Regions from separate parts of the Homo sapiens genome. Here region 2 is linked to region 1. Evidence: promoter capture Hi-C in 16 types of primary human blood cells and fetal thymus (Javierre and others, 2016). All regions are on one chromosome and are shown on one strand. The core of a region is centred on a gene start or on the middle of the fragment in contact, and the rest is flanking DNA. Distances in the headings are between cores, read along the strand shown. Region 1 holds the start of XKR3 (XK related 3). Region 2 has its middle 39 kb from the start of XKR3.

Region 1 (5,892 bases), core at 2,214-4,713:
TTTGTTCTGATTGTCCAACTGAGGTTGAAATGGAAGAGGAGGGAAACCACTTCTAATTGGGTCAGGTGAACCAGCAATGCCCTGGCTGACAGAAGATTTCCTTGTTAGAGTCATATTTAAATTTGTAGATGTTGAAAATGAACTTTCTTCACTAGTTTCAGCAGCTAAGACAGAATTATGTTTATCTGTGTTAGCCCCTGCTCTAAAGTGTTTCTTGAAATATTCAGTGAAGTAGATACAAGAGAAGTGTTTTTAATCTTAATTCTTCTTTTCGTTCTTATTAAAAGTTGGGGACAGCCACGTTTGAAATTCGGATGATAATACAACTTTAACTAAAACCAAGGAGAAGGTAATTCAGTGCCATTTTAAACCAAGAGGCAAGTAACAATAACAAACATAACCCATACAATCTCAGATTTCTGTTTTATCACACAAAGTTAATATCATCAAATAATGAATGAACATTGTTTACTATTTTTAAGAACATGCTTGTTGAGAAAAAAAAACACTCAAGTTTTGAAGCCCTCTGGTGAAAACATGTTATACATTTAATAGTAACATTTCACTAAGTGGCTTTGGTATCTTTATTTGGAGTTCACTGGTAAGACTGAATGTTGTTAGCAACATTTCTTAAAACCTGAAAGTTTAATGCTCAACCTGCACTCAATAATTTCAAAAAAATTAAGTAATTTTTACCTTAATATTTGATATAATTTTTAAAATCTGATCTTACTGCATGTATTAACATAGTTACTGATATATAAAATGAAATTACATATATACTCAAAGTGGTAACTGAAATATTTTGAATACCTTGCTTAAAACAGAAATTTCTTTTTCTTCTGCCAGAAAGTTGGCTAGAAAAGCAGATCTGTGAAAATTCTGTTGAATTTTACTAAATCCATAAAGGTTGAGCTGTCAAATTAAGATTTTCATACTGTCAGTTTGAAATATTCTGTAAGGAGCCTTTATTTCCAAATTTTCTTTCTTGAAGAGTTCTTCATTAGTCACTATGCAAGTTTCATTCTTATCCTATGAATTAGACTTGAATTGGTCACTTTCAGCTATTTTCCAAAGTTTACTGGGAAAGGTCAGAGAAGGAAAATCATTATCTTTATCTGGCTCAGAGACATAAAGTATAATGTGGCCTTTTTATCAAGGATCCTTGTGGCAAAACCTGAAAATCATTGATTCAGTCATTGACCTTAAGTCTGAATCCCCAGGGATTATGTGTTCACACAATGGAGACCCAGAGGAGGCTTTTGAACCAGTTGATTCATCTTTAGGAGAAACATCTTGAGTTTCTGCAGAAACATGTGCCATCTCAAATAAGTAATTCTTTAGCGACTTTTCCAGCCTGCATGTGTTTCAAGACTGCAGCTTCAAATGCTGCTTCAGTAGTCTACTCAGGTAAAGTAATTGAGATCACCACAGTGGTTTCCAACCTGAGTAGCAATGGCATCACAAGAGGACTTTGGTCACCTAGCAACAAACATAAAAATTTGGCCAAGACTGTTTACTTTCCAGTCTCAGAAATGTATCTGGTAAAAATAAAATATAGAATGATTACTTACACAGTTTATTCTGCAAAAGTTTCATGCCTGCAGAATCTTTTAAATTAATAAGGAGGGCCAGGCATGGTGGCTCATGCCTGCAATCCCAGCGCTTTGGGAGGCCGGGACAGGCGGATCATGAGGTCATGAGTTCGAGACCAGCCTGACCACCATGGTGACACCCTGTCTCTACTAAAAATACAAAAATTAGCCAGGTGTGGTCCATGTGCCTGTAGTCCCAGGTCTCGGGAGGCTGAGGCAGAAGAATCGTTTGAACCCAGGAGGCGGAAGCTGCAGTGAGCTGAGATTGTGCCACTGCACTCCAGCCTGGGCAACAGAGCAAGACTCTGTCTTAAGAAAATAATAAATAAATAAATAAATAAATAAATAAATAAATTAATTAATATCCTCAATCCCTGAAATAAACATAATTTTCTCCTTGACACACACAGTCTTACTAGATTGGTGCGAGGAGCATAGGGCCTGGTAATTGGACGGTGCAAAAAAATAAAAATAAATATTTTAAAAACTCTCTCAGCTTGGCATGTTGGATTGAAAACTGATGCAGTGTAAAACATATATGGTAAAAAGACATGGCCATATAGACAAAAGGTAGGTTAATGGTTGTCAGGGGCTGGGGAATAGAAAGAACTGTTAAGTAGATAATGGGGTTTCCTGTTTGATGATAGAAATGTTTTAATAATATAATTTTGAATAATGTAATTTTGTATTATGTGAAACATACCTTAAAAAATTAAAATAAAATCAAATATGAATAAAACTGATTAGATTTCAGAATAAAAAGTTATTCATGTATGTATCTATTCAAAACATTTTTTATTCATATCATAGAATAAATAATACTTTCATTTGGTATGTCTGTAAATATCTGACATGTTAATTATGTAAGATTTTAAAAGCAAGTGACCTACTTATAAGGAGATCCCAAAGAGTGGGAGATTTAAAAATGTAATAATAACAAGAAAGTGTTTTAAGTAAAGTAAATTTGTATGTATGTCTAAGCAGAAAATTTTATTATTTGGTTCCAAGAGCCAAATATCTATTTAAAAAATATTTCTTAAGGAATAATCTCTGTGTCCTGCAACGTAAAGTTATCATTATAAAACAGGAGTCAAATTTGTGAATTAATCTTAGAATTGAATAAAATATTTCTTCTCTTTGAAAAATAATCATGCCCCATTTACAGTAAGAATTTTTATATGTTCATGCTTGAGAGGTGGTATATTAAAATTCTAATGCCTTGGCTTTAAGTGTTGAATATGTGTGGAATAAAAAAATAATGATTTTGATATTTCTTATACTGTAGGAGGCAGTTCTCTCATACTGGAAAGAGGTGTCATTGTTAGAAGCTTGTCTTGGTTTAACATAGTTTAAGTTTTGGGGGTGTATTTTGTTTAGTTCAAAATTTTCCATATTAGCAGTAAGTAACAAAAATGTCCAGATCAGAAAACTCTTTGTGAAAATAAAACAGGTGCTCCTACCAGATGTGGTTCATCAATTTTGACAGAATTTTCATTTAAAAAAGGCAAAATTAAAATTTGTTTAATTGTTTGCTTTCTGGGGAATTTTCTTGTTGCTCTGTCTGAAGGAAGTACAGACTTCTTTTGTGATGGGAGGGGATGAATGGCTACTAGACAGCAGCAAAAGATGGGCCATGGGTGCGAAGAGAAGAGGGAGTTAATGGGAGAATCAGAAAAATATCACCTTAAATGTAGGACAATCGAAGTCAAATTGTGGCTGAGCGTTTTGGGGAACTAAGATGTGTGACTCTGTAGGGAGGAAGAATGCCTTGGTGTTTTCAAGGGAAGATGACTCAGCTAGTGCAGTCACCTGACTCCAAACTGCAAGCCTACTTTAGTCATAAAAAGGCAAGAAAATAAGCAATTTTACCTGCAAAGCAAAGGACGTAGTGTTGAAAACGAGACCAGAAATGGTGCTGTTAAAGAGGTGAACAAAAGCATTTACTTTTTGAACGAGTTTCAAAACTGTGAGGGTGGCAAATAGGCAAGGTAAGTAGGAGCAGCCCTCGACCATCTCAGATCAGCTTCTTCAGCCTACCTTGACCTCTGCCTGTCTCAGCTGGGGATCTTAACATAAATCTCTGGATATCAGGGGTGGCTTTTCCCGAGTCTTGAGCCTAGAAACTCCCTCTCTTGATTCTGATTTTCAGAGAAGAGAAGCAGCTGCTTAGCATTTGGGTGGGACAGTGGTTGTTACTAATATATTACAAATTTCAGCATGTTTTTAAACATCAGAAGGAGAAAGTGCTTCGTATTTAAGTGAAATCTCAAAGGGGCAGAAATCTACCATATTTTTTGTTATTCAGATGCAGTGATGCACTGGCTATGTGAGTACAAGAAACAAGTTCACTTAATCACAAACACATGCCTAAATTCCATTGTTCAGTGACTTCACTTTCACTTTCTACCTTGAATTTTAGACTCTGGAAGACCCATTTCTAAACTCTGTGGCCCTTTTCATATGTGCATATTTTCATAAGTGTTTTCCAGAAATAAATTATAGAGGTCCTTCTGTGAGTCCAAAGGAGAAGGAAGTGGTTGGGGCAGCCAGAAAGGTGCAATCTGCATTAATATCATATTCGATGTATGGATTGCTGGGGAGAGAGTGGGATATATTTCTTATAATGTTGGATGTATTTTTCCCCTATCCTGAGGCCCAGAAACTCTGATGTCTCTGCAGTTGTCTTTCCATGCTTTCCTTTATACCCCTCGCCTACTTCTGTAATTTCTCTCTCTACTCTCCCTCCTCCTTCCCACCCTTTTTCTTTCCATTTGTGCTCTCTCCCTCCATTCCTTCTTTTTCCCTTTTCTTTCTTTTTGTGGGTATCTGGTAGCTGCAACTTATTTTCTTTCTGCTTTTCTTACTCACTTACTCTATTTACTAGGTATTTAACAATTGTCTTTAAAAGTAACATCCTTTCTTTCTTAAAATTTTATCCCTAATGGACATTATTTGGGGAAAAACATTTTTATGGTGCCTCTAGATAAGTAATTATATCATCTGCACATGATTCCCGTATTTTCTTACATGCCCGTTCCTCGTAGGTGGAAATGGGTACTTCATTGTACTCTTCTCTCTTTATTTACAAGAGTGTTTTTTCTGTCTCATCCCTTTAAATAACACATTGTCTCTCTTTTTGTGACATTGAATTAATTAGGTCAGATGCGATTTTTCTCATCTATTCATTTGAAGACTGTTTCATATTGCTTCTAGGGCCTATTTGCAAGCAACAAATTATTTTGTTGTTGTTGTTGTTTTGTTTTGTTTTTTAATTTTTGGACCATTTGTCTCATCACTCCAACAAGCAAGAATTAGTTCTCATCATTAAGATCCCTTCAAGATTTCATTCACTTGTTTCAGCAGCCTTGAATTATCATCACCTGGACCTGTTGTTACATCAAGAATCTCTCATTTCTAATGTTCTACTTTGGACACTGTTACCTGTGAGTTTGTTTACATTAAAAAAAAAAAACCTTTTAGTACTTGAGTACCCTAAAGTTTCATATTTTGAATTGGTGTCAGATTTATTATTATTGATCTCTCCATTGCTGGAGAAAACTAAGCAATAGGTAAACTCTATTCTTTTGGTAATTTGTATTTTCTGAATGTTTCACAGTAAATGTTTACTAGTCTTGTGATGCTGCAAATTGGCAATCAGATATATTTTAAAGTGACAAGGTTGCCCTGTTCATCACCAGTTCTGTACATCACGCAGATCAAAAGTAAGGTGTTTAAGTTTATTTTAAATGTTTTTCCCAAAAATTCTGCTTCCACCACTTTTCCAAGCTCTACCAGATGGATACTCAAGAATTGACCAAGGCAATCTCTTCTCTCATATTTCACTGTCAAATACTCTTAATCAGTGAGTCCTGTCAATTCTGTGTTTCTAAGAAATGATGATGGTGGTCATGATTATAATGATGTCAATAGGAACACCTTTCCAAACTTCACTGTGTACCACGAACTCTTCTTCCTGCTGCCGATGTATTATTTTCTCTACACTGCTATCTCCCCAGGAAGATTCTAATGATGTTATCATTGTACAGATGTGGAAACTGTAGCTTATGAGGTTTTAATTTTGCAATTCAAGGAAATGACAGGATTCTGGCAGTGTGGTAGCTCATGCTTGTAATCCCAACACTGGAAGGCTGAGGCAGGTGGATCACTTTAGCTCATGAGTTTGAGACCAGGAAGATGGTCAAACCCCATCTCCTCAAAAAACACAAAAATTAGTGTACATGGTGGCATGCACCTGTGGTCCCAGCTACTTGGGAGGCTAAGGCAGGAGGATCATTTG
Region 2 (5,892 bases), core at 1,710-4,209, 39 kb before region 1:
TGATGAGTTCATGTCCTTTGTAGGGACATGGATGAAGCTGGAAACCATCATTCTCAGCAAACTACCGCAAGGACAAAAAACCAAACACCACATGTTCTCACTCGTAGGTGGGAATTGAACAATGAGAACACTTGGACTCAGGAAGAGGAACATCACACACCGGGGCCAGTTGTGGGGTGGGGGGAGGGGGGAGCGATCGATTTTGGAGATATGCCTAATATGAATGATGAGTTAATGGGTGCAGAACACCAACATGGCACATGTATACATATGCAACAAACCTGCACATTGTGCATGTGTACCCTAGAACTTAAAGTATAATAAAAAAAAATATATATATAAAAATTTAAAAAAGAAAGAAATAGATGTTCTGTAAAAATATAGACAATTTTTACAGACAAATACATTTATAAGTTGTTTTTATCTGAAAAATTGGGGATATTTCATATTTATAACTAATTATTGAGCCTTAAGTTTTCTTGGCCATTTCTAGGCTAATAAACTAAGAATTATGTAAACTAAGCCAAAGTAGAATAGACATAAAAGTCCTGAACACTTCAACTTCCTATTCTTCAAGAAGTATACCCGGCAAAGCTCATTTGAGAGAGGAAAAGCTTTCCTCCACCCTCTGTTTTACAGCGCTGAGGCTTCTCATCACAGTTCTATGACTTGTAGCTTAAATCCGTGTTACATGGTCACTGGCGTTGTTAGTGCTTCTCTTTTAACACTGTAGGAATTAATCAATTCGGTAGCATATTTAATTAATTCTATCACTAGCCTGGCTACTGGCCACCCTTCTCTTCTCAACCAGGAAATTAAGTCAGAAAGGCTTATTTTCCCTTAGTAAGACTTTGGGGACATAGCAAAGTTCATGACAATAAGAAAGAAGTGGCAGCAAGCGTTTGAAAAGAGTGGTTTCAGTCAACTGAGGGGTTCCCATGGGAGAAGCAGGATCAAAGAGAGAGAGAGAGAAAGAACAGGGAGGGCTAATTAGATTAGTTCATAGTTGTCCCAAGAGCGACGCCTTTGGGGGCTTCCCTTAGGGGGGAAAGAGTCCAGGCCAAAGGGATGACCCGTGAGATGGCTGCTGTAAAAGTGGACTATTCTTTTTCCAGTGGCCTGGCTATTTGCAAAAAAGGCAGACATCTTAGGGCACAGGGGTGTTTAGTTTGCATGCACAAGTAGAAGTACTCCCAATCCCTGCAGTTGTTGTAACTGGGAGGACATGCACCTGTTTACCTTTGTAAGTGTTTCCCCACTGTCACCACTGTAATTCTAGGTTATCTTTAGGGAGGCCAAACTTATCTATCTACTGAACCCAGTCCAGTTGCCATCTGATCATCAGACTGAGTGACCTCTTACGTCGATCCAATACAGTTCACCAATCAAATCCAATTTGATGCTGGACTGAGTCAAGTTTTTACCAATGACTCATCAGCTACCCAAACCTCAAAAGGCCATATGTCATCTCACAGCACAAACTGGCCACTGGCACCCACCCCAAGGTTATTTGCCCTCTCATAGCACAAAACCCTGGATTCGAAACCCAAAAGGATCAAGGTTCAATGCAAAAACAGCAGAGTCTGGCCTAAGAGGAATGTACAACCTCAGAAGGAGGGCAAAGGGGCCAGCAGTGTCTTTCCTGAATTCCTCAAGGGGTCTTGGGAGGTGGATCCCATCCAGCTTGCCAGAACTCTCAAAAGACAAAATTACAACAAATTTACTTTAAACTAAATAAATAAAATAAAATAAATAAATGAAACTTAGCTTTTATTTATTATTTCAGAATCAACTTCGAAACCCAGTCTGGATAAAAAAATAAAAATAAAAACCCTTACAAAGGTAAACAAATGCATAGCTCAAAACACAAATCCTTGGAGCTTCAAAATTTGAGAGAGAACTTGCCCAGGACCCCTGCTGCTGTGAGAGATCTGTGTGCACAATGGACCTGGTGGGTCGCTGTGCTTGGGCACTCCATGCTTCTGGGGTTTGATGGACGTTCTACTTCAGATTGCATTTCCTACACTAATCTGTTAAAAAAAACCTTTACATATGCTAAATTTAGCAGAGTTTATTTGAGCAAAGAAACCGTTTAGGAATCAGGCAGCAGTTTGCACCAAAAATGGCTCAGAACACTCCATGCCACCATTTGTGCAGGTTACATTTACAGCTAGAGAAAAAGAAGTGCACAGAAACAGCCTGATTGGCTGCTGTTGGCATTTACCTCATATAGTCATGTTTTGGCAGCTTTCAGCCTCTGATTGGCTGAAGGCTCAGCTGTTTTCATTGGCTAAGACATAGTTACATGTTATAAGACTATAGTCTTGGGTTAAGTTACAGTTATTTTTACACATTAAGTTAGGTTACAACTAGCTATGTATACAGAACTCATTAGGCCAAACTTAAAATAAGTATGGAGGCTGCTTTAGGACACCTGTATGAGCGAAGTATGCCAGAGTGGCAGAGTGCTACATACATATGTGTAAATTTCTATATTAAATATATTTATGTATGTTACCTATATATTTATATGCTCATAAATATATATTTCCTTGAATAGTCAGCTATGTTCTCTATTTCTAAATTTATAAATATGCATATTTATGTGTGTGTGTATATGTATATATATATGTATATTTAATTTTTATGTGTTTGCTTCTGCCTTATTTGTAAGGTAGCCCAAAATGGCAGAGAGATTACATATGTATGCTATAAATGTTTATAGTATATATTTATGTTTATGTATATATTTAAATGTTGCATAGTTTTTTTTTTCAAGAATTTGAAAAAGTTTCTAAATTGAGGAAAAATTTATGTAAGATTAAGCTCTTTAAAGTGTATCATTCACTGACATTTAGGACATTCTTAACACTCTCTAGTTCCAGAATTTTTTTTTCTTTTTTGAGTGGGGTCTCATTCTGTCCCTTAGGCTGGAGTGCAGTGGTGAGATTTTGACTCACTGCAATCTCCACCTCCCAGGCTCAAACAATCTTCCCACCTCAGCCTTCTGAATAGCTGGGACCACAGGCACATGTGCCACAACGCCCAGCTAATTCTTCGTATTTTTTTTGGTAAACACGGAGTTTCACCATGTTGCCCAGGCTGGTCTTGAACTCCTGAGCTCAGGCGATCCACCTGCCTTGGTCTCCCAAAGTGCCGGGAGTTTTTATAGTTCGAGGTCTTACATTTAAGTCTTTAATCCCTCTTGAGTTACTTTTTGTATATGGTGATAAGTAGGGGTCCAGTTTCATTCTGGCATCTACATAGCCAGTTATCCTAGAATCATTTATTGAATAGGAAGTCCTTTTCCTATTGCTTATTTTTGTCACCTTTGTCAAAGATCAGTTAGCTGTAGATGTGTGGCTTTATTTCTGGGTTCTTTATCCTGTTCTAATGGTCTATGTGTCTGTTTTTGTACAAACACCATGCTGTTTTGGTTACTGTAGCCTTATAGTATAGTTTGAAGTGAGGTAGTGTGATGCCTCCTGCTTTGTTCTTTTTGCTTAGGATTGCTTTGGTGATTTGTGCTCTTTCTGAGTTCTTTATAAATTTTAGAATAGGTTTTTTTTTCTAATTCTGTGAAAAATGACATTGGTAGTTTGATAGGAATAACACTGAATCTGGGGATTGCTTTTGATAGTATATGGCAATTTTAACAATATTGATTCTTCCTATTCTTGAGCATGGAATGTTTTTCCATTTGTTTGGGTCAGCTCTGATTTCTTTCAGCAGTGCTTTGTAATTATTGTTTTCTTGTTGTAGAGATCTTTCACCTCCCTGGTTCCCTTTATTCCTTGGTATTTTTGTGTGTGTATGTGTCTATTGTGAATTAAATTGCATTCTTGATTTGGCACTCAGCTTGGATATTGTTGGTGTATAGAAATACTGCTGATTTATGTACCTTGATGTTGTATCCTGAAACTTTGCTGAAGTTGTTTATTAGATCTAGGAGCTTTTAGGCAGAGACTATGGGGTTTTCTAGGTATAAAATCATGTTATCTGCAAACAGAGATAGTTTGACTTCCTGTCTTCCTATTTGGATGCTTTAACTTCTTTCTCTTGCCTGATTGCTCTGGCTAGGATTTCTAGTACTGTGTTGAATAGGAGTGATGGCAGTGGGTATCCTTGTCTTGTTCCAGTTCTCAAGTGGAATGAACCCAGCTTCTGCCTGTTCAGTGTGATGTTGGCTGTGGGTTTGTCATAAATGGCTCTTATTATTTTGAGGTATGTTCCTTCAATACCTAGTTTATTAAGGGTTTTTAACATAAAGGGATGTTGAATTTTATCAAAAGTCTTTTCTGTATCTATTGAGATGATCATGTGGTTTTTGTTTTTAGTTCTGTTTATGTGATAAGTCACATTTATTGATTTGCATATGTTGAACCAACCTTGCTTGTTTATCCCAGGGATAAACCCTGCTTGATTAAGGTGGATTAGCTTTTTGATGTGCTGGTAGATTCAGTTTGCTAGTATTTTGTTAAGGATTTTTGCATCTGTGTTCATCAAGGATATTGGCCTGTAGTTTTTTCTTTGTTGTGTCTCTGCCAGGCTTTGGTATCAGAATGATGCTTGCCTCATAGAATGAGTTAGTGAGGAGTCTCTGCTCCTCAATTGTTTGGAATAGTTTCAAGTAGGGATAGCAGCAGCTCTTCTTTATACGTCTGGTAGAATTTGGCTGTGAATTCATCTGATCCTGGGCTTTTTCTTGCTCAAAATCATAAAATTAGATGGAAACTATTTTATTACTGATTCAATTTCAGAACTCATTATTAGTCTGTTCAGGGTTTCAGTTTCTTCCTGGTTCAATTTTGGGCAGCTGTGTTTTCAGGAATTTTTCCACATTTTGTAGGTTTTCTAGTTTGTGTGTCTAGAGGTGTTCATAATGGTCTCAGAGTCTTTTGTATTTCTGTAGGGTCATTGATAATGTTTCCTTTGTCAATTTTGATTGTGTTTATTTGGATATTCTCTCTTTCTTCTGCTGTTTGTCTAGTTAGTGTTCTATCTATCTTATTTAGTCTTTAAAAAACTTGTGGTTTATTGATCTTCTGTATGTTTTTTCATGCCTCACTTTATTTCAGTTCAGCTCTGATTTTGGTTATTTCTTGCCTTCTTCTAGTTTTATGGTTGGTTTGATCTTGTTTTCCTAGTTCTTCTTCTAGGTGTGATGCTATGTTGTTAATTGGAGATCTTTCTAACTTTTTGATGTGAGCTTTTAATGCTATAAACTTTCCCCTTAACACTGCTTTAGCTGTGTCACAGAGATTCTGGTATATCTTATCTTTTTTTCTTTGGTTTTGAAGCTTATTTCTGCCTTAATTTCATTATTTACCTAGCAGTCATTCAAGAGCAGGTTGTTCAATTTCCATGTAATTTTATGGTTTTGAGCAATCTTCTTCGTATTCCCTTCTATTTTTATTGTGCTGTGGTTTGAGAGCATAATTGGTATGATTTCAATTTTTAAAAATTTGTTGAGAATTGTTTTTTGTCTGATTATGTGGTCGGTTTTAGAGTATGCACCATGTGGTGATGAGAAGAATATATATTCTGTTGTTTTGGGGTGGAGAATTTTGTAGATGTCTGTTAGTTCCATTTGGTCAAGTGTTGAGTTCAGGTCCCACATATATTTTTTAGTTTTCTGCCTCGATGATCTGTCTAATACTGTCAGTGGAGTGTTGAAGTCTCCCACTATGATTGTGTGGGAATTTAAGTCTCCTCACAGGTCTCTAAGAATTTGTTTTTATGAATCTGGGTGCTCCCTGGTGCTCCCTGGGTACACACATAATTCTTGTGTTGGATGCATATATATTTAGAAGAGTTAAGTCTTCTTGTTGAATTGAACACTTTACCCTTATGTAATGCCCTTCTTTGTAGTTTTTTGATTGTTGTTGACTT

Evidence for each region. Contacts are between HindIII fragments. The CHiCAGO score rates a contact against its expected background, and 5 or more counts as called.
Region 2: a fragment that was not itself captured here is called in contact with the fragment with the promoter of XKR3 in region 1 in 1 of 17 cell types (M2 macrophages); the score reaches 8.7 in M2 macrophages.

What each region holds. Positions count from the first base shown.
Region 1 is chr22:16,822,982-16,828,873 of GRCh38, reverse strand. It overlaps XKR3 (XK related 3), which reads left to right and starts at 3,463. Exons shown (of 4, transcript NM_001386955.1): 1 at 3,463-3,583. It also overlaps the pseudogene HSFY1P1. The HindIII fragment of the contact is 7,309 bases long and covers 2,926-5,892 here.
Region 2 is chr22:16,861,874-16,867,765 of GRCh38, reverse strand. No RefSeq gene overlaps it. Among named protein-coding and RNA genes, the nearest start is that of XKR3, 39 kb to the right of the region's middle. The HindIII fragment of the contact is 4,686 bases long and covers 617-5,302 here.